Linked DNA regions of Homo sapiens: regions 1, 2, 3, 4, 5 and 6 are each linked to region 7. Evidence: promoter capture Hi-C in human tissues and cell types (Jung and others, 2019). All regions are on one chromosome and are shown on one strand. The core of a region is centred on a gene start or on the middle of the fragment in contact, and the rest is flanking DNA. Distances in the headings are between cores, read along the strand shown. Region 1 overlaps SGTA (small glutamine rich tetratricopeptide repeat co-chaperone alpha). Region 2 holds the start of DIRAS1 (DIRAS family GTPase 1). Region 3 holds the start of ADAT3 (adenosine deaminase tRNA specific 3). Region 4 holds the start of SLC39A3 (solute carrier family 39 member 3). Region 5 overlaps GNG7 (G protein subunit gamma 7). Region 6 holds the start of GNG7 (G protein subunit gamma 7). Region 7 holds the start of LSM7 (LSM7 homolog, U6 small nuclear RNA and mRNA degradation associated).

Region 1 (2,700 bases), core at 197-2,696, 430 kb after region 7:
AAGGCTGCACCACACACTCCAGGCAGCAGGAGAGGCCCAGAGTGGACAGCCAGGGGCCACAGCGGCTATTTCAACGAACGTCAGAGCCACAGCTGCACCAGAAGCGTTCCACACACTCGGGGCCACGTGTGGCTGGTGGCGCAGAGAACATCGCCATGACCTAGAAGGGTCTACAGTATGGTGGTACTTTGTGTATGAGGTTACGGTGGTAAAAAATCCACCTCAACTATTAAAAAAAGAAAAGGAAAAATAAATAAAAGCTTATTTAAAAAAAAAAGGGAAGACTGGAAGAAAAGGCGGCCAAAATATTAATGTTGGTGGCTCTGGGTGAGAAGATTAAGGTTGGGCTGAATGCACGGCTCACACTTTGGGAGGCCGAGGCGGGAGGATCGCTTGAGCCCAGGAGGTTGAGGCTGCAGTGAGACGTGACTGCACCACTGCCCTCCAGCCGGGGGGACAGAGCAGGACGGTCTCAAAAAAAAAAAAAAAAGATTAAGATTGTTCTTGCTGCTTTTTAACATTTTTGTATTTTAAATTTGTCTACAGTAATTATGGTTTAAAAATGAAAGAGAGTGTATATGAGGAGGGGACAACGACAAAATGAAGAGGCCACATGGGAGCAGAATGGAAACACCTCTGGGGAGGCCCGGAGCCTCCCGCCCCCAGGGAGCCGGCGTCTGCTGGAGACAGACAGGACTGAACTCAGGGGAGCCTCCCACCCCTGGGAAGCCGGTGTCTGCTGGAGACGGACAGGACTGAACTCAGGGGCCCCTGGGGAAGGAAACCAAGCCAGCCACGGGCCCCTGGAACCCATGGGGGACACTGAGTGTATTTTTAAACAACTGTAAGTGCAACACCTGCTCACAGTGAGAAAAGGACAAAAAATCCCTCACAAAATGCAGGCAGAACGCTCGGGCGCAGTCAAAGGCAGGTACCCGGCTTGTCCTTTCCACCACTCGATGACCTCGCCCCCACCCCCGAGGTGGCAGCCCCGACACTGCAGAAACAAAGAGCTTCTGCAGGCGGCCTTAGGCAGGGGGGACCCCAGACACCAGCCCTTCCAGGGAGCTGTGGCTCTCCCCTAATCTCCACCCAGCGCCGATCCACAGATGGGAAAGGAGTGGGGAGCAGGACTTGGTGGCCACCTGGAAAGGGGCCCAATGCCCAGAGATGCCCCCACCTGCCTGGGCGGTTCAGGGTGATCTTCTGAGCTGGATGCACCCAGGACTCGCTGTCCAGTGTCCAGACAGGCTCCACAGCCCCCGGGCGTCACTCCTGCTGGCTGCCCTCACTGCCAGGCACTCACGTGGTGTCACTCCTGCTGGCCACCCCCCAGCCCCCGGCCCCATGCACTCACGCAGCGTCACTCCTGCTGGTCGTCGTTGCTGGCGCTGGGCGTCCGACTCCGGATCTGGCTCCTGAGCTGCTCTATCAACTCTGGGTTCTGCTGCTGCATCTGCTGGGCAAACTGCTGGCCCCTGCGGGGAAGGGCACATGGGGCTCAGCCAGGGCCAGGAGGCTGCCTGCTGCCTCCGTCCATCCCCAGCTGACCCCTCGGGCCCTCCACCCCAAAGACAGGCCTGACCCCTCGCTGGAGGACGCTGGGCCCTTCGGAGCAGGGGACGCAGCACTTTCGCTCTCCTCCTTCCCTTCCGCCTGCGAGCCCTGCCCGCCGCCCACGTCCTCCGTCCTCTTGGAAGCAGTTCCACTCACGCCTGGATGAGGCTGGCCAGGTCGTTCTGCGAGGGGCTGGTGCCGGGAGTTCCCAAGGGGTTGTTGCCACCCGAAATCATGCCGGACATGCTGCAGGAGAGAGCGCGTGACTCGCAGCCGGGACAGCCTGACCGCCACCCCCACTGCAGGCCCTCGCAGTGGCCCGGGAGAGAATCCCTCTCAGCCCTTCACCTTCCCCTGCAGGAGAGGATTCTCTCTCACCACCTGGTGGGCCTCCAGGGCCCAAACCCACCCTGTGACTTTCACCTGCTTTCCCAGAACACCCCTCTTTCTTTGGCCTAAAGAGCGTAGTTCTCAGCCAGGGGGTGATCCTGCCCCCAGAGGACCCCTGCAATGGCAGCGGACATTTGCAACAGCCATGATTGGGTTACGCCAAGACAGGGGCAGGGGGTGCTCCTGGCATGGAGTGGATGGAGGCTAGAGACAGTGCTCAGCACCCTGCAGTGCCCAGGACGGCCCTGCTCCAGAAACTGGTCCAGCTCAAATGGCCACGGTGCTGTGGCTGGGAAACCATGCTTTAAGATTTGACCGTGGGCCAGCCGCGGTGGCTCACACCTGTCATCCCTGCACTTTGGGAGGCTGAGGCGGGTGGATCACCTGAGGTCAGGAGTTCAAGACCAGCCTGGCCAACATGGTGAAACCCCATCTCTACTAAAAATGCAAAAATCAGCCGGGCATGGTGGTGGATGCCTGTAATTCCAGCTACTTGGGAAGACCCACTTGATCCCGGGAGGCAGAGGTTGCAGTGAGCCAAGATTCTGCCACTGCACTCCAGCCTGGGTGACAGAGCAAGATTCTGTCTCAAAAAAAAAAAAAGGAGAAAGAAAAAAAGATTTCACCATGAAAACAGGTGAGCAGCTCCCCAGTGCGCACAGCGCTTACTGGGGAGTGACCCTATGAGCCAGCGAGTGCACTCAGAAGTTTATATCCAAGAGAAACGAAAACAGGATTCACACAGACGATTGC
Region 2 (2,700 bases), core at 177-2,676, 390 kb after region 7:
TCAAGGGTAACAGATTTGCCAGGAAAAGAAAAGAGGCTGATGAAAGCGCCAGCTGACACAGTCCCCAGTTGTGATGAGCCAGGCAAACTTCTGGGCGCCTCGGCAATGCCAACTCATGTGATTGGCTGCCGGGTTTGTGGACTACATGCATAGTAATTTCTCGGCATTCGGAGGAGGCTGGGGGTGCTGGTGGTGGGGGGGAGGCGGCCTGTGCTGCAGACCCTGCCCTTTCCTGGGTGGGCGCCCTGAGAGGCGGGCACGCTGCTGTGCAGAAAGACGCCACCAAGACCGGCCTGGGGTCCTAATGGCCATGGGTTCTGTGGACCCAGATCCAGCCTTTGCCTTGCTGCGGGCACTGAAGCTCCAGCCCCCATGAGCAGTACTGTCCTCCCCGCTGGGTCTGGAATCCCTGACCAGAAAGGCGCTTGCACTCAACAGCCCCGAAGCCCACGCCACTTCCCACCTCCACCGCCTGGGGGGTGCGGGTGGAGGGAGGGGGTCGTGGGCACCGAGGCAGGAGCAGGAGGGGCTGGCTCAAGGTCACAGAGCAGGGGGGTGGAGGCGCACAGCGGGGCTGGAAGCCCACCCTGCTTGGCTAGACTCCTGGGGTTTCCCGCCTGTGCGGGGCAGCCCACCCCCAGACGTCCAGGCAGGGCCAATCTACCCCAGCCCTGGGTCCCTGAAGCCCGGCTCCCGGCCGGGCACGGCGTGGTTGGTGGGGGCGGGGGTGTCAAAGCAAAGCTCAGGGTCAGGAAAGCAGAGAGAGCCGCGACCCAGGGGTCTAGCGGGGGTCACGCCTGACCAAGGGTGGGGCGGGGGTCTGACCCAGGGCCGCCTGGCCGGTGAGGGGTTTGATGGAGAAAGGGCCTGCTCTAGGGGGCCCGAGGGCGCAGAGGCACAGTGCGGGGCCAGCCCAGGGGCGACCCTTGACTCAGGAGGACCTCAGTGGTGGAGAGGAGGAGCCCACCCCGGGGAGGGGGCGCGGAGGGAGGGGCTTGGCTGGGCAGCGGGGCGGAGGGCGAAGAAGGCGGCTGCAGGAGGGAGGAGGCCCTGCCCGAGGGGACCAATGCGGAGAGGGGCGGCGGGGTGGGCCTCGGTGGGGCGGGCTCGGCAGGGGGGCGCCCTCCGGGTGGGGGAGGGGAGGCGGCCGGGAGCTGTCCAAGGTGAGCGCGGAGGGGCCGGCCGGGCCCGGCGGGAAGGGACGGGGGACGCCCGGCGAGGGGCCCCGGAGCCACGCGGGGAAGGGCCCGGCCCCAAGGCCCGGGAGGCTGGGGCCGGGACAAAGGAGGGACGCGCGGCGGGGAGGACGGCCGGCTGGGGGCTGCGCAGGGACCCCCTCCCCGCCCCGGGCCGCCTACCTGGGCCCGCTGGTCCCTGCGGCGCCGCGGCCGCTGCTCCTGCCCGCTCCGGTGTCCGCTGGCGCCGCCGCCCCCCGCCCGCCCGAGCCGCCGCAGTCGCGCCCGCGCCGTCCCCGCCCGCCGGGCCCCGCGCTCCGCCCCGCCCCGCCCCGCCCCGCCCCGCCCCGGGGACCCGCGCCCACGGGGCCGGCGCGCCGCCCGGCCAAGGTCACCGCCGCCCCACGCGGGACCCCTGCCCGCGCCCGGGGTGGGAGAGGTCGCCAGGATCCGGGACCCCCGCCCTGCCACGTAGCCACCTGCGCGCGCCCTCCCTCGGGGTGGGAGCTGGGGCCGCTTCCCGGGGAACCCCGAGTGGGGGCCAGGAGCCCGGCTTGGGAGGAGCAGAGTCCAGCCGGGGGTGGAGGGCTTTGGCAGAAATGCGGATAAAGGGGGTGCAGAACGGGACCCCTGAGGCCGGCTGGGGCCCGGTCACACGCAGGGCGGGGAATCAGAGGGGTGCGTTGTGAAATGAGTAAGTCGATAATCAACAATCAATGAACAGGTTTAGAAGCGGGCAGAGGCGGGAGGGTTCAGGTCAATGGGGTGCACCTGGAGGCCCACCCATCCCAGGGGCCTGGGCAGGGGCGGGATGGGGGCAGAAGCGGACTCAGCGCTCTGTAGGGCTGGTTTTGTGGAGGCGGAGGCAGCCCATGGCAGTCAGGCCTAGGGAGGTGGGGGGTGAGCAAAGGGGGCTGGCGCTGCTCTGCAGCGGATGGGTTTGCCGTTTTCGGTTAGGAAAATGTTTGTGTTCCCCCAACAGGAGGTGTCTTAGGGGAGCACTGGCTTTTCTGATGCGTCTGTGTGTCCACAAGAGACCATGGTTCCGCCTCCATTTTGGAGACCGGGAGGCCGAGGTTCCTTTTGGCCTCATCGGGCAGATCCCAGAGGAGACTGGACTTTGGGGTCTAGTGACCAGGCCAGAAGGTGCTCTCAGGGGTGGGTGCGGGACAGTCCCAGGCCGCAAGGCTGTCAGAGGAAGGCGCCCCTTGGTGGAGAGGCCAACTCTGGGACCCACAGGGGTCTCTCCAGAGTCAGAGCCATCAGTGGGTGAGAGGCTGGTCTGGAAGGTGGTGAGCTCCCCATCACCAGGCCTGTGAGCAGGTGAACCCCTTGGGCCCTCAGCTCCTGGGGTTCTCCATGACCCACCATTTCCATGGCCCTGGATGAGGTGGGCCCATCTGCCTCTGCGGAGACTTGGCACTGCCTCCAAGACCACTCAGTCCCCTCTCCTGTTGCCACTGAGGCTGGGGCACTGAGGTTCAAGCGGCTTTGGGGCTCAAGGAGCTCTATTTCTCCCTGATTT
Region 3 (2,700 bases), core at 130-2,629, 420 kb before region 7:
CACTTTGGGAGGCCGAGGCGGGCAGATCACCTGAAGTCAGGAGTTTGAGACCAGCCTGACCAACATGGAGAAACCCCATCTCTATTAAAAATACAAAATTAGCCAGGTGTGGTGGCGTGTGCCTGTAATCCCAGCTACTCGGGAGGCTGAGGCAGGAGAATCACTTGAATCTGGGAGGTGGAGGTTGCGGTGAGCTGAGATCGTGCTGCTGCACTCCAGCCTCGGTGACAAGAGCGAGACTGTCTCGAAAAAAAAGAAAAAAGAAAGAACGTTTTAGAGCTAATCTGGAGACAGGCCAAGCACGGAGACCCACCTGCAAAATCCCAGAGATTTCCTCAAGGTGGTCTGCAACCCGGCCCTTATTAGGATGAGGCCAGCCTGCGCTTTTAAGCCACCAAAATTCATGAACACACAGAGCTTATAATCAGCACCTCCCCTGCACACCCACCATTCCCAGTTCCCCTTTTTTAGCCCCTCACCCCAGCCTCAAGTTTGAAGGGGTTTCTGGAGGCCTAAACCAGCTGCCTCCCTGCTGCGAACTCTGAAAGGAAGTCACCTTCCTTTCACTGCACTTTTTCCTCCTTACTGGTTTGTCAAGACTCTGGCATCGGAGCCTGAGCTGGTTACAGCCAGGCACTGTCAAGCTGTTGGGGGAGGGGATGACAAATTCCCTCCCGTTGAGAACCACTTGGTTAAACCTGTCCAACTGGAAGGAGTAACAAATTGCTCATAAAATATGCATGTTTTGGTGAAACCCCTTCTCTACTAAAAGTACAAAAACTAGCCAGAAATCGCTTGAACCCAGGAGGTGGAGGTTGCAGTGAGCCTAGCACTGCACTCCAGCCTGGGTGACAGACTGAGGCTACGTCTCAAAAAAAAAAAAAAAAATGTGCTTGTTTGGCCCAGGAGAGGCAAGAGGTCTTCTTCACCTACGTTACTGGTGAGAAAACTCAAACCTGAGGGCGGCCCACGCCGGAGTGCAGTAACAGGCAGAACTGGAACCTGGCCCCATCCCGGACTCAGGGGACGGGTGTCATATACCCCCTCTGCCTCATCCTTCCCACTCTGCTAACCTTCCAAAGATCCCCCGGGTTCCGAGTTTTCCCTGGCCGCTTGATGGGATTCGAACCTGCAAACTCAGCGCTCGCCCAGCGCAGCGGCCCCGCCTCTCCTCCCCTCCCGCCGCCCGGAGGTCATGTGAGCGCAGTGCCGGAGCGGGGCGGGGCGAGGCGGCGGCGCGCAGTGCCTACTAGCAATTGTAGTCCTTGCCCCACCTTGGCCTGGCGAAGATCCCGCCCCTGGAACTACGCTCCCGTCGTGCTCCGCGGCTCCAGGCGGAGACGAGGCGGGGTGAGGTGGGTTGGGCCGGGCCGGTTGCTAAGACTTGGCGAAGCGCTGCGCTCGCGCCCGGATCCCTCAGGTAAGCGCGCGGCCCCGAGGTCTCGGGTTCTCCAGGCTCAGACTTCCCCAGAGGGGGAGTAGGGGCTGACATGGGGGGTCTCGGCGGTGAGGGGCGCCGGCCGTTTGTGGGGAGAAAACGGGGGGCCCAGGCCAGCCTCGCGCGCGTCTCGGGCGGGCCGGTGGGCGACGCGGGGAGGCGGCGCGAATGCGCGTGCGCGCGCGCGCGCGGCGCTGGCCTGGGGGAAGCCTCAGGACCGCGCTCCCCCGGGCCTAGCGCCTTTCTGCGCGTGTGCGCCCTTATGGTCGGTGCGGGAGACCCCGTATCCTCCAGCTGCTTCCGGTGGCCCTTCCTCAGGTCATGTCCCGCAGTCCCCTGCCTCTGAACCGCGCTCTCGCGAGTTTCCGTAGCCTTCGCGTCCTTCCTCCCCAGCTCTGATTCGCCTTTATGTGGAGATTCCCCTAGGCCTTGGTACATCCCCAGAATTGACCATCGTTCCTCATCGTTACCTAGAGTATGAGTTTTTCAGGTTTTTGTATCACAGGCCCCCAGTTATCTCCCACACACTACCCCGAGGACCGAGGTTCCCCGCTGTCTTGCAGAGAAGGCCTCCTTGTAGGGTGGCCAGAAACAGAGGATCGACTCCGTGGAAACAAGGACGGCTGGGTGCAGTTCCTCACCCTATAACCCCAGCACTTTGGGAGGCCAAGGCGAGTGGATCACCTGAGGTCCGGAGTTCGAGACCAGCCTGTCTAACATGGTGAAACTCCATCTCTGCCAAAAATACAAAAATTAGCTGGGCGTGGTGTCACGCGCCTGTAAAACCAGCTACTGGGGAGGCCAAGGCAGGAGAATCGCTTGGACTTGGGAGGTGGAGGTTGCAGTGAGCCAAGATGGCACCATTGTACTCCAGGCTGAGCAAGCTAGCAAGACTCACTCTCCAAAAAAAAGAAAAAAAGATTTTTTTTTAATAAGCCAGGCATGGTGACACATGTCTGTGGTCCCAGCTACTTGGGAGGCTGAGGCAGGAGGATTGCTTGAGCCCCGGAGGTTGAGGCTGCAGTGAACTGTGATGGCACTACTGCATTCCAGCCTGGGCAACAGAGCGAGACCCTGTCTCTAAATAAATAAATAAAATACATACGTGTAGCGCCGGCCGTGGTGGCTCACGCCTGTAATCCTAGCACTTTGGGAGGCCAAGGCGGGTGGATCACGAGATCAGGAGATCAAGACCATCCTGGCTAACACGGTGAAACCCTGTCTCTACTAAAAATAAAAAAAAGCCAGGCATGGTGGTGGAC
Region 4 (2,700 bases), core at 70-2,569, 410 kb after region 7:
TCGAGAGTTCGAGACCAGCACCTGAGGTCGAGAGTTCAAGACCAGCCTGGCCAACACAGTGAAACACTGTCTCTACTAAAAATACAAAAATTAGCTGGGTGTGGTAGTGGGCACCTGTAATCCCAGCTACTTGGGAGGCTGAGGCAGGAGAATCACTTGAACCCAGGAGGTGGAGGTTGCAGTGAGCCAAGATCAAGCCATTGCACTCCAGCCTGGGTGACAGAGTAAGACTCTGTCTCAAAAAAAAAAAAAATTAGCTGGGCATGGTGGTACGTGCCTGTAATCCCAGTTACTCGGGAGGCTGAGGCAGGAGAATTGCTTCAACCCAGGAGGTGGAGCTTGCAGTGAGCCGAGATCGCGCCATTGTACTCCAGCCTGGGCTGCAGAGCAAGACTCCGTCTCAAAAAAAAAAAAAAAAAAAAAAAAAGGGCCTCCCTCTCTGCCCCTGGCTGACTCCTGCCCTAAACCATATCCCTGTACCCGCCGGAAGGCCTGCTGCAGAACAGATACTCAAAAACCGCTGGCTGAACACATGGACGAGGGGAAGCGTGTGGCCACTGATAAGGGCCGCATTTTACCTGATGCAATGGGCCAAAGTGAAGTCGGTTTCACCCTGGACCCCAAAATGTCACCGTTCTTAGGAGGAATCTCAGCTCCTCCCCTGTCCTTGAGTTTTCCCCAACTGGGTTTTCTCCCCCACCATCAGCCCCAAGCGCCTCATGGCCCCGCTACCTCACTGCATTCAGGTCTTCGGGTCACTGCTCAGATGTCTCCACTCAGAGCTCTCCCCGCCCCCTTCCCTGGTGTTATTTTCTTTTATTTTGTGCTACAGAGGGAGCTAGGAATTACATTATTTTAAGTCATTTAAAGTCGTCCCTCCCCCCCGGCGGTGAGCTGGGCGGGACCAGGCTGTCTGTCTTGCTCAGGGCCAGCTGCACCCAGCGCAGAGCCACCCAGGCACACAGTAGGCGCCCAATAAAGACCTGTCCGGCATCTGGATACCTCAGTCTGTACAGTGAAGGTGAGGGTGGCCTGCACGCTCTCAAACCGGAGGCTGCTCGGGCCGGGATGAGGAGGGCACGGGCTCATTCATTCAATCAGCACTTATTGAGCGCCTTCTGTGTGCCTCGCGCTACCGGGCACCGGAGACGGGCCTCGGCTAACGTGCGGGTAGAGTCCAACAGACCCCCGGCCGCTCAGCGCCGCCCCGCCCCGCCGCCCCAGGTCCTCTCTCTGCCCGCACCTACCTCCCGGGGGCCCCTCGTCCGCCGACTGGCGCCGCTGCACGCCCAACGGCCGCGCAGTCTCGACCCCACAGACGCGGCCCGGAGAGGCCCCGCTCGGCGCGGCTGGTCCACGCCCCGCCCACGCCCCTGCCCATTGGCCTCCCCGAGACCCGCTGGCAGAACTTTCCATACTATTGGCTGCGAAACCTGCCACTCATATGCGACTCCACCTCTCCTACCGGCACAGGAAAGGGGTTTCCTCCCGCTGAGCGGCGGGCGCAGCCACCAAGCGGCCCCGGCGGGAAACCCGGATTGGCGAGGAACGGTTCCGGCAGGGTTGGGTTTCCAGAGCTGTCCAGGGGCGCCTGGTGCTGAATCCCGCTTGGAAAGAGGCTTGGAGGTGGATGGGAAGGGATTTCCAACGGAGGCGGCTCCTCTCTCAGCGTCCTCGCTGCTGATCCCCTTACCGACGGCTGAAGAAGCAGATTCATCCCTTCAACAAATCTCTGTTGATAGGCAGGAGGAGTAAGTCCAAGAGATCGACTGTACATCATGGTGGCTACAGCTCGTAACAATGCATTGCATACTGCAAAATTGCTAAGAAAGTAGATGTTACATGTTCAAACCATGAAAAAATAAGTATAGGAGGTAACGCGTAAGTTAAAAACCAAATCTTGGCAGGGCGCAGTGGCTCACACTTGTAATCTCAGCACTTTAAGAGACCGAGGCGGGAGGATCGCTTGAGTCCAGGAGTTCAAGGCCAGCCTGGGCAGCATAGTGAGACCCCATCTCTAAAAAAAAAAAAAAGGTTTTTTTTGAGACAGAGTCTCGCTCTTGTCACTCAGGCTGGAGTGCAATGGCGCGATCTTGGCTCACTGCAACTTCCGACTCCCGTGTTCAAGCGATTCTCCTGCCTCAGCCTCCCGAGTAGCTGGGATTATAGGCGTGTGCCACTATGCCGGCTAATTTTTGTGTTTTTAGTAGAGACGGGGTTTCACCATGTTGGCCAGGCTGGTCTTGAACTCCTGACCTCAGGTGATCCTCTTACCTTGGCCTCCCAAAGTGCTGGGATTACAGGCATGAGCCACTGCGCTTGGCCTGATGACTTGATTCTAACAAATAGAAAATGGCAAATGAATGGGATGTCATTCTGCGATTAGGCTATGAGAGATTGTGACTTCTGTTTTGCCAGCAGAGCCTGTCTCTCGCCTTCTCAGCCTACGTGTCTTGACAAAGCAAGCTAAGATGCTGGAGAGATCCAGAGGGAAAGGAACTGAGGGTGTCCTCCAGCCAACAGTCAGCAAGGCAATGAGACCCTCAGCACAAGCGTCCATAAGGAACCAAATGCTACCAACAGCCATGAACGTGATCATGGAAGAGGGTCCTGCCCCAGTTGAGCCTTTGGATGACTGCTTCACTTCAATTGCAGCCTTTGAAACACCCTAAAACAGGGCTGCATGTGGTAGCTCATGCC
Region 5 (2,700 bases), core at 180-2,679, 340 kb after region 7:
GACTGATGACGGCCAGGCCGGGCGTGACCTGGAACAGGCTCCACTGCACCCTGGGGCACACAGAACAAAGGGGCAGGCCTGCTTGACCCTGAGGGTTCAAGGTCTCTGTGAGCCGAGGTCAAGGAGGGGGAAGGAACAATCAGACGGTTGGCTCTGTGTCCTGCACCCTCAGTGCTCTAGAGACCCTCCTCACCCAGTCCTCTAGGTCACTCTGGGAGGATGGCCCCGGCTGACACCGTCTGCCCCATCGGGAATCTATTCTGGTGTCTACTGTGAGCAGGGAGCAAACTCATTTTTTTGCCAGTTAATGCAAGGTCTCTCCCCTGGAAACCGTGGACATTCAGAGCTGGGTCATTCTCTAGGGTGCAGCTGTCCCGGACACTGCAGGGTGCTGAGCAGTGTCCCTGGCCTCCACCCACTCCACGCCACGACCATCCTCAAGTTGTGACAACGACAAATGTCCTCAGACAACACCCAGTGTCCCCTGGGGCAGAATCACCCTCAGTTGACACCCCCTGAATTAGGAAATTCCACGGACCCCCAAGATACTCTGTCCCCTGATCTTCTGTCCTGCTGAGGTCCCAGGAGGCTGCACACATTGAAATCCACACCTTTAGTTGGGGGGAGGGAGAGAGGAGGTGAATCCCACGAGCTGGGGTCCCCTGGTTTACACCGTCTGCCCCATCAGGAGTGTGTCCTGGTGAGCAGGAAGCAGACTCCATTTCTTCTCCAAATAATGAATGCTGAGTCTCTCCTCCCAGGCACGGTGGACACTGGGGCTGTACCATTCTCTGGGATGGAGCCGTCCTGAGCACTGCAGCACGCTGAGCGGCATCCGTGACCTCCAGCCACTGCATGCCCGGAGCACTTCTCAATGGTGACAGCCACAAATGTCCCCAGACATGGCCCAGTGTCCCCTGGGGGGGGGGGGGCAGGATCACCCTGCCGTGCTGGACAGTCCTCGCCACACCCCACCTCTTGGAACTGGAATGTCTGGTGAGACGGGCAACAAGGATTTGGGAAGAGGGCCATGCGGGACAAAAAAAAGAAAGAAAATGAGAACGAACGGATTTCTATTTCCCCTCAATGTGAAAATAGCTCCACTGAGTCCCGAGGAAGGATTGGGTGGGGACGTACGCTCTGGTATGGCCAAGGTGGAGTGCTGGACAAGAGCTACTCCATTCTGACTTCACGACTCGCTGTCTGGCTGGGTGACCTTCAGTCCCTTGCCACTGTCGCTGTGCCTCAGTTTCCCACTCTGTAGAATGCACATCGAAGCAGCATCCACCCTGTGAGACTGGTTTTGGAGATTACATAAATGAGTATCTATAAAATGTTTAAAGTGGTGTCTGAGCCATGGGTCATGGCACATACTGGCTTTATTATTTAGAACCTGGATTACCTCCTTTTATTATTCTTTTTCAATTTATTTTACTTATTTTTTGAGATGGAGTCTTGCTCTGTCATCCAGGCTAGAGTGCAGTGGTGCGAACTTGGCTCACTGCCTCTGCCTCCCGGGTTCAAGTGATTCTCCTGCCTCAGTCCCCCATATAGCCAGTATTAGAGGCGCCCGCCACCACGCCCAGCTAATTTTTGTATTTTTAGTAGAGACAGGGTTTCACCATGTTGGTCAGGCTGGTCTCGAACTCCTGACCTCAGGTGATCTGCCTGCTTCAGCCTCCCAAAGTGCCACCGTGCCCGGCTTATGTTTTAATTTTTATTGTATTTATTTATTCATTTTTATTTTGAGACAGAGTCTTGCTCTTGTCGCCCAGGCTGGAGTGCAGTGGCACGATCTCAGCTCACTGCAAACTCAGCCTCCCGGGTTCAAGGGATTCTCCTGCCTCAGCCTCCCGAGTAGCTGGGATTACAGGCACCTGCCAACATGCCCGGCTAATTTCTGTATTTTTAGTAGAGATGGGGTTTCGCCATGTCGGCCAGGCTGGTCTTAAACTCTTGACCTCAGGTGATCTGCCCACCTCAGCCTCCCAACGTCCTGGGATTACATAGGTGTGAGCCACCATGCCTGCTTTTTTAGTTTTTACTTTTCATAGAGATAGGATCTTGCTATGTTGCCCAGACTGGCCTTGAACTCCTGGGCTCAAGCGATCCTCCCTGCTCAGCCTCCCCAAGTGCTGGGATTACAAGTGTGAGCCACCTTGCCTGGCCAGATTACCTCCTTTCTGGACTAGACCAGAGCACAGCAAAGTGTTTCTGTCTAGGGCAGGATGTAAAAATTTTCAGCCTTACGGAACATATGTTCTCTGTTGCAGCTACACAGTTCTGCTGTTGTATTTTGAAAGCAGCCATAGACTATGCATAAATAAATGGGCATGGCCCATCGTGTGCCAATAAAACTTTATTTATAGTAACAGGTGGCCTGGATTTGCCCCCAAGGCCATTGGTTGAGACCCTCGCAAAACAGTCTAAGACAAAATAGCACCATTTCAGCAACTAAATACTCTCATCTAGGCAGTGTTCCAGTCTTCCATCCTGAAATTAGATGAGGGTCCTGTCAAAAAAGATTCACCTCCGATCCTCAACATCACACGGCAGAGTTAGCACAGAGCATCCCTTCACACAAAACACACACTCATCCGGGCGCGGTGGCTCACGCCTGTAATCCCAGCACTTTGGGAGGCTGAGGCGGGTGGATCACTTGAGGTCAGGAGTTCGAGACCAGCCTGGCTAACATGGTGA
Region 6 (2,700 bases), core at 109-2,608, 370 kb after region 7:
AGCAAAACACCTGCCCCCAGGTGTCTCCAGCCTGGGACCTTACCCCCACCTCCCTTCTCACTAACTCACCCCAACTTCCTTCTCCCTGAACCCCCTTCCACCCCACACACTCACAAGCTCCCCATTTCCCCTGATAGCCCCCAGACCCTTTCTGGAACAAGCCTGACCCCCACCTGTATGCTCCAGCCACTCCCTGGCTCACCCCAGCTTTGTCCTTCTGCCCCTTTTCAGCTAACCCTAACCCCTGGGCCGTCAATCACACCCCCCCATCTTCACCAACCCCATTCCTCAGTCCTCTCCCCAGACAACCTCAACATCTAATTCCCTCTGCAGCCCCCTCTCCAATGAACCCCACTTCAAACTCCATCCCCAGCCCCCTCTCCAGCTCCCTGCAAACCTCAACCCCACTCCCAGCTCCCTCTTCAAAGAAGCTGCACCCTTGACTCAACCCCTGTTCCCCGCTCCAATTAACCTCAACCCCCAACACCATCCCCAGCGTCCTCCCCAGCTAACTCAGATTTCCAATTCCACTTCCAGCCCCCTCCCCAGCTAACCTCGACCTACAATTCCAGCCCCCTCCCCAGCTAGCTTGGACCTCCAATCCCACTCCAAGCCCCCTCGGCAGCTAACCTCGACCTGCGACTCTAGCCCCCTCCCCAGCAAACTCAAGACCTCCAATTCCACCACCAGCCCCTTCCTAGCTAACCTGGACCTGCAATTCCAGACCCCTCCCCAGCCAACTCAGACCTCCAATCCCGCTCCAAGCTCCCTCCCCAGCTAACCTCGACCTGCAACTCCAGTCCCCTCCCCAGATAACTCAGACCTCCAGTCTCACCCCCAGCCCCCTCCTCAGCTAACTCAGACCTCCAATCCCACCTCCAGCCCCCTCCCCAGCTAACCTGGACCTGCAACTCCAGCCTCCTCCCCAGCTGGCCCTGATTTCTAAGTGGAGTCCCAATGCCCAGACCCAATCCTTCCCCAGCTAACCTCGATCTGCACCCCCTGCCCCGTCCCCAGCTAACCTCGACCTGCAACTCCCGCCCCCTCCCCAGCTAGCCCTGAGCCCCAAGTGCAGTCCCAATCCCCAACCCCAGCCCCTCCCCAGCTAACTTCGACCCCCTAAGCGCAGCCCCGTCCCCAATTCCAACCCCAGCCTCCAGTTGCAGCCCGGGTCCCCAGACCCAGCCCCCCTCCTCAGCCGACTCCGACCCCCAACTCGGTCCGCAGCCGAATCCGAGCTGTCCCAGTCCCCTCTCCGGGACGCCGGCCGCGCCCTCACTTCCCCTGGCCCGGTTCGCGGGCGCCCTTACCTGCGCTCGGGCCCCGCGGCCGCCTCAGCCCCGCCGCGCAGCCGAACCCTCCGCCCCGGCCCGCGAGCGCTCGCTCCCCTCTGCGGGGGCGGGGCCGACACTCGGGGGGCGGGCCCTGGCGTCCCGGCAAGGCCAATCGCGAGCCCCGGCTGCGGGAGGCCGGAGCGGGGGCGGGGCGCGGGGCAGGCAGCGGGGTAGGCTGCGCCCAGGAGAGTGGGGCGGGGCTCCGGGCGCGGGCGGGGCCGGGGGCGGGGCGAAGAGCGGCTTTCCAGGGTGACTTCGTGACGTCAGGAAGGCGCGAGTAGTTTCGCGAGTTCGAATCCCGCGCTAGGTGAGCTGGTTCGAATCCTGCATGCCAGCTCCGGGGGCTCATTTGCTGGGGAAGAATGTCAGTGATCATAACTGCTGCACCGCTTTCTTGAAGACTTTATAGGCTCCCTCTCGTGGGACCCTCCGCATAAGGCCAGAAGGCGAGATTACTATCCACATTTTACAGAGGTGGAAACTGGGTCTCAGAAAGGTGAAACCTAAGGTCATTTGCCCAAGCCTGTCTCATCATTTCCAAGATTTCTCAGTTTCCTAACTCATGGCCCTGGATCCACAAATTCCTGAGCCCCAACACAGATGGAATGAACCAGAATCCTATAGGGAACTGGACCCTGAAATCTGTGTTTTGTTTAGTTTTCGTTTTGTTTTTGAGACAGGGTATCACTCAATTGCCGTGGCTGGACTGCAGTGGTGCAGTCATAGCTCACTGCAGCTTTGAAGTCCCAGGCTCAAGCAGTCCTTCCACCTCAGCCTTCCGGGTAGCTGGGGCCACAGGCACGCACCACCACATCCAGCTAATTTTTGTATTATTAGTAGAGACAGGGTTTCACCGTTTTGGCCAGGCTGGTCTCCAACTCCTGACCTCAGGTGATCCACCTTTCTTGGCCTCCCATAGTGCTGGGATTACAGGCGTGAGCCACCGTGCCTGGCCCTGGCTAATTTTTTTTTGTTAGAGATGGGGTCTTGCTATGTTGCCCAAACTGGTCTTGAACTCCTGGGCTCAAGTGATTCTCCTGCCTCTGCCTCCCAAAATGCTTGGATTACAGGCCTGGAATCTTCATTTTCCACAAGCTCCCTTGGGAATATTGGAAAACACTTTGTATGTCTCCAAAAGCAGTACACAGCCCTGGAAGGAAGATGGAGCCACCATATTCTGTGACCTCAGGGATTTCATCAGGCGCTGACACTGTGTGTCCTTGCCGCCCCACCTGAGCCCTGGGATTGGAGCTGCTGGCCAAAATCCAAGATAAACTTCCCCAGGGTTCCTGTCATCCCTGCAAGAACCTCCCTGCTCATCCTCTGGACTCCAGTGGCCTGCCCTGCAGGGCACAGAGAAACCTCC
Region 7 (2,700 bases), core at 134-2,633:
TGTCCTTCCATGTCCGGAGTCAGCATGGTGTAGACTGAGAAAACATTTTATTCATATTCCTTTTTCTTTTTGTTTTGAGACGGAGTCTTGCCCTATCGCCAGGCTGGAGTGCGGTGGCACAATCTCGCCTCTGGGGTTCAAGCAATTCTCCTGCCTCAGCCCCCCGAGTAGCTGGGACTACAAGCGTGCGCCACCATGCCCAGCTAACTTTTTGTATTTTAGTAGAGACAGGGTTTCACCACGTAGGCCAGGATGGTCTTGATCTCCTGACCTCCTGATCTGCCTGCCTCGGCCTCCCAAAGTGTCAAGATTAAAGGCATGAGCCACTGTGCCTGGCCTCCTTTTTCTCTTTTGAGACTGGGCCTTGCTCTGTGGCCCAGGCTGGAGTGCAGTGGTGCGGTCATAGCTCACTGCAGCCTCAAACCCTAGGGTGAAGCCACCCTCCTGCTTCAGACTCCCAAATTGCTGGGATTACACACGTGAGCCGCCCCGTCCGGCTGGGGCACTGTGATTTTTAATAACTCTCATGCCACCCAGTTGTCTACAATCCAGGGACAAAGAGGTTTGGGTCCCCGTCTTACAAAAAAAAGAAACCAAAGATCCAAGAGGCTATTGAATAAGTGACGTGTTGTCTGACTGCTTACTTCCTGCTGAGAGCTGCCTCAATTACATTACATGCCTGTAACCATTCATTCTCACCACCCCCTGTGAAGTGGGTGGAGTTACCAGCCCCATTTGACAAATGAGGAAACGGAGGCTAGGAGAAGGCAGCTCACTTGCCCAGTCAAAAATGCTAGGCTGGGCATGGTGGCTCATGCCTGAAATCCCAGCAATTTAGGGGGCTGAGGCAGGCAGATCGCTTGAGGCCAGGAGTTTGAGACCATCCTGGCCAACATGGCCTCTCTACTAAAAATACAAATATTAGCCGGGCGTGGTGGTACACATTAATTCCAGCTACTCGGGAGGCTGAGGCACAAGAATCACTTGAACCTGGGAGGCGGAGGTTGCAGTGAGCTGAGATCGCACCACTGCACTCCAGCCCGGGTGACAGAGCGAGACTGCGTCTCAAAAAAAATAATGAAAATAAATAAAAGAGGTGCTTCCGCATGCGTCCTCATCATCTCTGTTGCTGGGTTTATTTGAAATTTTTAAAGAGGGGGTACCGACAGCGGGAGCCTCCTCACCTTCGCGGCCTCCCTGGAACTTTACCCGGATCGTCTTGTCGATGTACTTGGACAAGTCCAAGATGCTCTCCTTTTTCTTCTTCTCCTTATCCTGCGGGGAAAGCAGAGCGCATGAGACCTGGAGCGCGGCCCGAGCTCCACGCCCCCCGGCTCCAGATTCCGCCGCGCGCTCACCGCCATCTTGTCGCGCCGTGTGGCTCTTCGCAGGCACCGCCCCGCGCCCTTTGACCTCCCCCACGCGCATGCGCGGCGCATGCGTGGCCCGGGGTCTCGGGGCGTTGCTGGGAAACATCTGCCGTTGGTTGCGGCGGGCACCGGCCGACATGGCGGCAGCGGTGGCGGCTGCGCTGGCGCGGCTTTTGGCGGCCTTTCTGCTCCTCGCGGCCCAGGTGAGCGCGGCACCGGTCCCGACGGCACCGCGGGCTGCGGCCCTTCGGCCTCTCTGTCCCCGGGCTACGCGCAGGAACGACCCCGCTCGGCCCGTCTTGGGGGTCCAGCCTCGGGGATCCGCCGTCCCCGCGTTGTCGGCCGGCGGTGCCGGGGCTCGGCCGTGACCTTGCGGGTCTGTCCCCGGCTCCTCTCCTTTCCCCGCCTCGGAGGCCCTCCGCCGCTGCAGCGCCACTCACTTCCCACCGGGTCTGAAATTTGTGCCCCCTCCATCCTCCGGTTCTGCTTCTCCGTTTCGGGGTCTCCAGTTGCCGCCGGGGACGCCTCTCTCCGGCTCTGTGGCCTTGAGCAGGCGGCTGCCCACCCCTCTCCGAGCCTCAGTTTCCCCTTAGGCGGAACGGGCACGGTGCTAAGCTAACCTCACCCTAGGGGGTGCGGTGGGGGAACCCAGAGGCGTCCCGCGCGTCCCCCAGTAACTGGCAGCATCCTGGAGCGGCCAGGAGTCCAGCCCTGCACTGGGGTCGGATCCCCGCTCCATCTTTTACTCCGTGACCTTGGACGATGGAATTCGTGTGCAGAAGGAGGACCGACTATGGTGTGGATTCTGGAGGTTCTGTCCAGGGTGACCAGCGCCCAGGGCCAACAGGCCTTCATTATGTTCATTGTGTGTCATTTGATGTAAAGAGTGTCAGGTTCTAGTGGGGACAGTCTACGAGATCGCACTGTCATAACTGCATCTTTTATTTTCTTAATTCCAAATCTTCCCTCTCTCCTGAGTTCGGTGGCTCAGGCAATGGAACCTGGAGCAGCCCCACAAATGCAGCCCTTAACCTTCACTACCCCCTCAGAGTTCTCACTCTTAAGGCGTCGCCGCCACCTGGCTCCTCAGTCTCCACTCCTCCAGCCCCACCGCTATCCCTCTGCTGTGGCTGCCTTTGTCCACCACATCCCCAGTCCATCCTCGACACAGCAGGGGTGACCCTTTCAAAGTATGTCAGACCGTGTCGCATCCAGATGAGTGCGCCGTCCAGTTGTGACCTGGCTGCTGGGGAAGCCTGCAGCTCATTGCAGTCGCTTCACTCTCTAGTCTTTTCTCTTACCCTGAGATGCCCCTGGTCTCTGCAAGGCT

What was found. The method cuts DNA at HindIII sites, captures the fragments that hold promoters and counts their contacts. A contact is called where the count stands out against the background at its distance.
Region 1: a contact is called between a fragment that was not itself captured here and the fragment with the promoter of LSM7 in region 7, in 4 of the 25 tissues and cell types used here (dorsolateral prefrontal cortex, lymphoblastoid cells, mesenchymal stem cells and 1 more).
Region 2: a contact is called between the fragment with the promoter of DIRAS1 here and the fragment with the promoter of LSM7 in region 7, in 1 of the 25 tissues and cell types used here (lymphoblastoid cells).
Region 3: a contact is called between the fragment with the promoter of ADAT3 here and the fragment with the promoter of LSM7 in region 7, in 3 of the 25 tissues and cell types used here (dorsolateral prefrontal cortex, psoas muscle and spleen).
Region 4: the fragment with the promoter of SLC39A3 here is called in contact with the fragment with the promoter of LSM7 in region 7 in 4 of the 25 tissues and cell types used here (dorsolateral prefrontal cortex, lymphoblastoid cells, mesendoderm cells and 1 more).
Region 5: a fragment that was not itself captured here is called in contact with the fragment with the promoter of LSM7 in region 7 in 1 of the 25 tissues and cell types used here (IMR-90 fibroblasts).
Region 6: the fragment with the promoter of GNG7 here is called in contact with the fragment with the promoter of LSM7 in region 7 in 2 of the 25 tissues and cell types used here (dorsolateral prefrontal cortex and mesenchymal stem cells).

The regions. Positions count from the first base shown.
Region 1 is chr19:2,755,980-2,758,679 of GRCh38, forward strand. SGTA (small glutamine rich tetratricopeptide repeat co-chaperone alpha) reads right to left here. Exons shown (of 12, transcript NM_003021.4): 10 at 1,714-1,803; 11 at 1,358-1,478. The coding sequence ends at 1,364. Among named protein-coding and RNA genes, the nearest start is that of SLC39A3, 17 kb to the left of the region's middle. The HindIII fragment of the contact is 7,304 bases long and covers 1-2,700 here.
Region 2 is chr19:2,719,946-2,722,645 of GRCh38, forward strand. DIRAS1 (DIRAS family GTPase 1) reads right to left here and starts at 1,427. Exons shown (of 2, transcript NM_145173.4): 1 at 1,359-1,427. The HindIII fragment of the contact is 24,571 bases long and covers 1-2,700 here.
Region 3 is chr19:1,904,020-1,906,719 of GRCh38, forward strand. ADAT3 (adenosine deaminase tRNA specific 3) reads left to right here and starts at 1,380. Exons shown (of 2, transcript NM_138422.4): 1 at 1,380-1,420. It overlaps SCAMP4 (secretory carrier membrane protein 4), which reads left to right and starts at 1,380. Exons shown (of 7, transcript NM_079834.4): 1 at 1,380-1,420. RefSeq lists enhancers at 374-433, 714-773, 1,794-1,883 and silencers at 1,104-1,433, 1,484-1,633. The HindIII fragment of the contact is 31,876 bases long and covers 1-2,700 here.
Region 4 is chr19:2,738,698-2,741,397 of GRCh38, forward strand. SLC39A3 (solute carrier family 39 member 3) reads right to left here and starts at 1,320. Exons shown (of 3, transcript NM_144564.5): 1 at 1,248-1,320. RefSeq lists silencers at 416-683, 1,092-1,491 and enhancers at 802-851, 1,552-1,601. The HindIII fragment of the contact is 11,347 bases long and covers 1-2,700 here.
Region 5 is chr19:2,664,443-2,667,142 of GRCh38, forward strand. All of the region lies in intron 1 of GNG7 (G protein subunit gamma 7), which reads right to left. Among named protein-coding and RNA genes, the nearest start is that of MIR7850, 35 kb to the left of the region's middle. The HindIII fragment of the contact is 9,228 bases long and covers 1-2,700 here.
Region 6 is chr19:2,701,336-2,704,035 of GRCh38, forward strand. GNG7 (G protein subunit gamma 7) reads right to left here and starts at 1,359. Exons shown (of 5, transcript NM_052847.3): 1 at 1,311-1,359. RefSeq lists a silencer at 1,255-1,644. The HindIII fragment of the contact is 6,266 bases long and covers 1-2,700 here.
Region 7 is chr19:2,327,203-2,329,902 of GRCh38, forward strand. It overlaps LSM7 (LSM7 homolog, U6 small nuclear RNA and mRNA degradation associated), which reads right to left and starts at 1,384. Exons shown (of 4, transcript NM_016199.3): 1 at 1,359-1,384; 2 at 1,185-1,275. The coding sequence starts at 1,364. It overlaps SPPL2B (signal peptide peptidase like 2B), which reads left to right and starts at 1,482. Exons shown (of 15, transcript NM_152988.3): 1 at 1,482-1,573. The coding sequence starts at 1,508. RefSeq lists silencers at 389-488, 1,509-1,768 and enhancers at 759-818, 1,099-1,753, 1,189-1,238, 1,249-1,298. The HindIII fragment of the contact is 22,122 bases long and covers 1-2,700 here.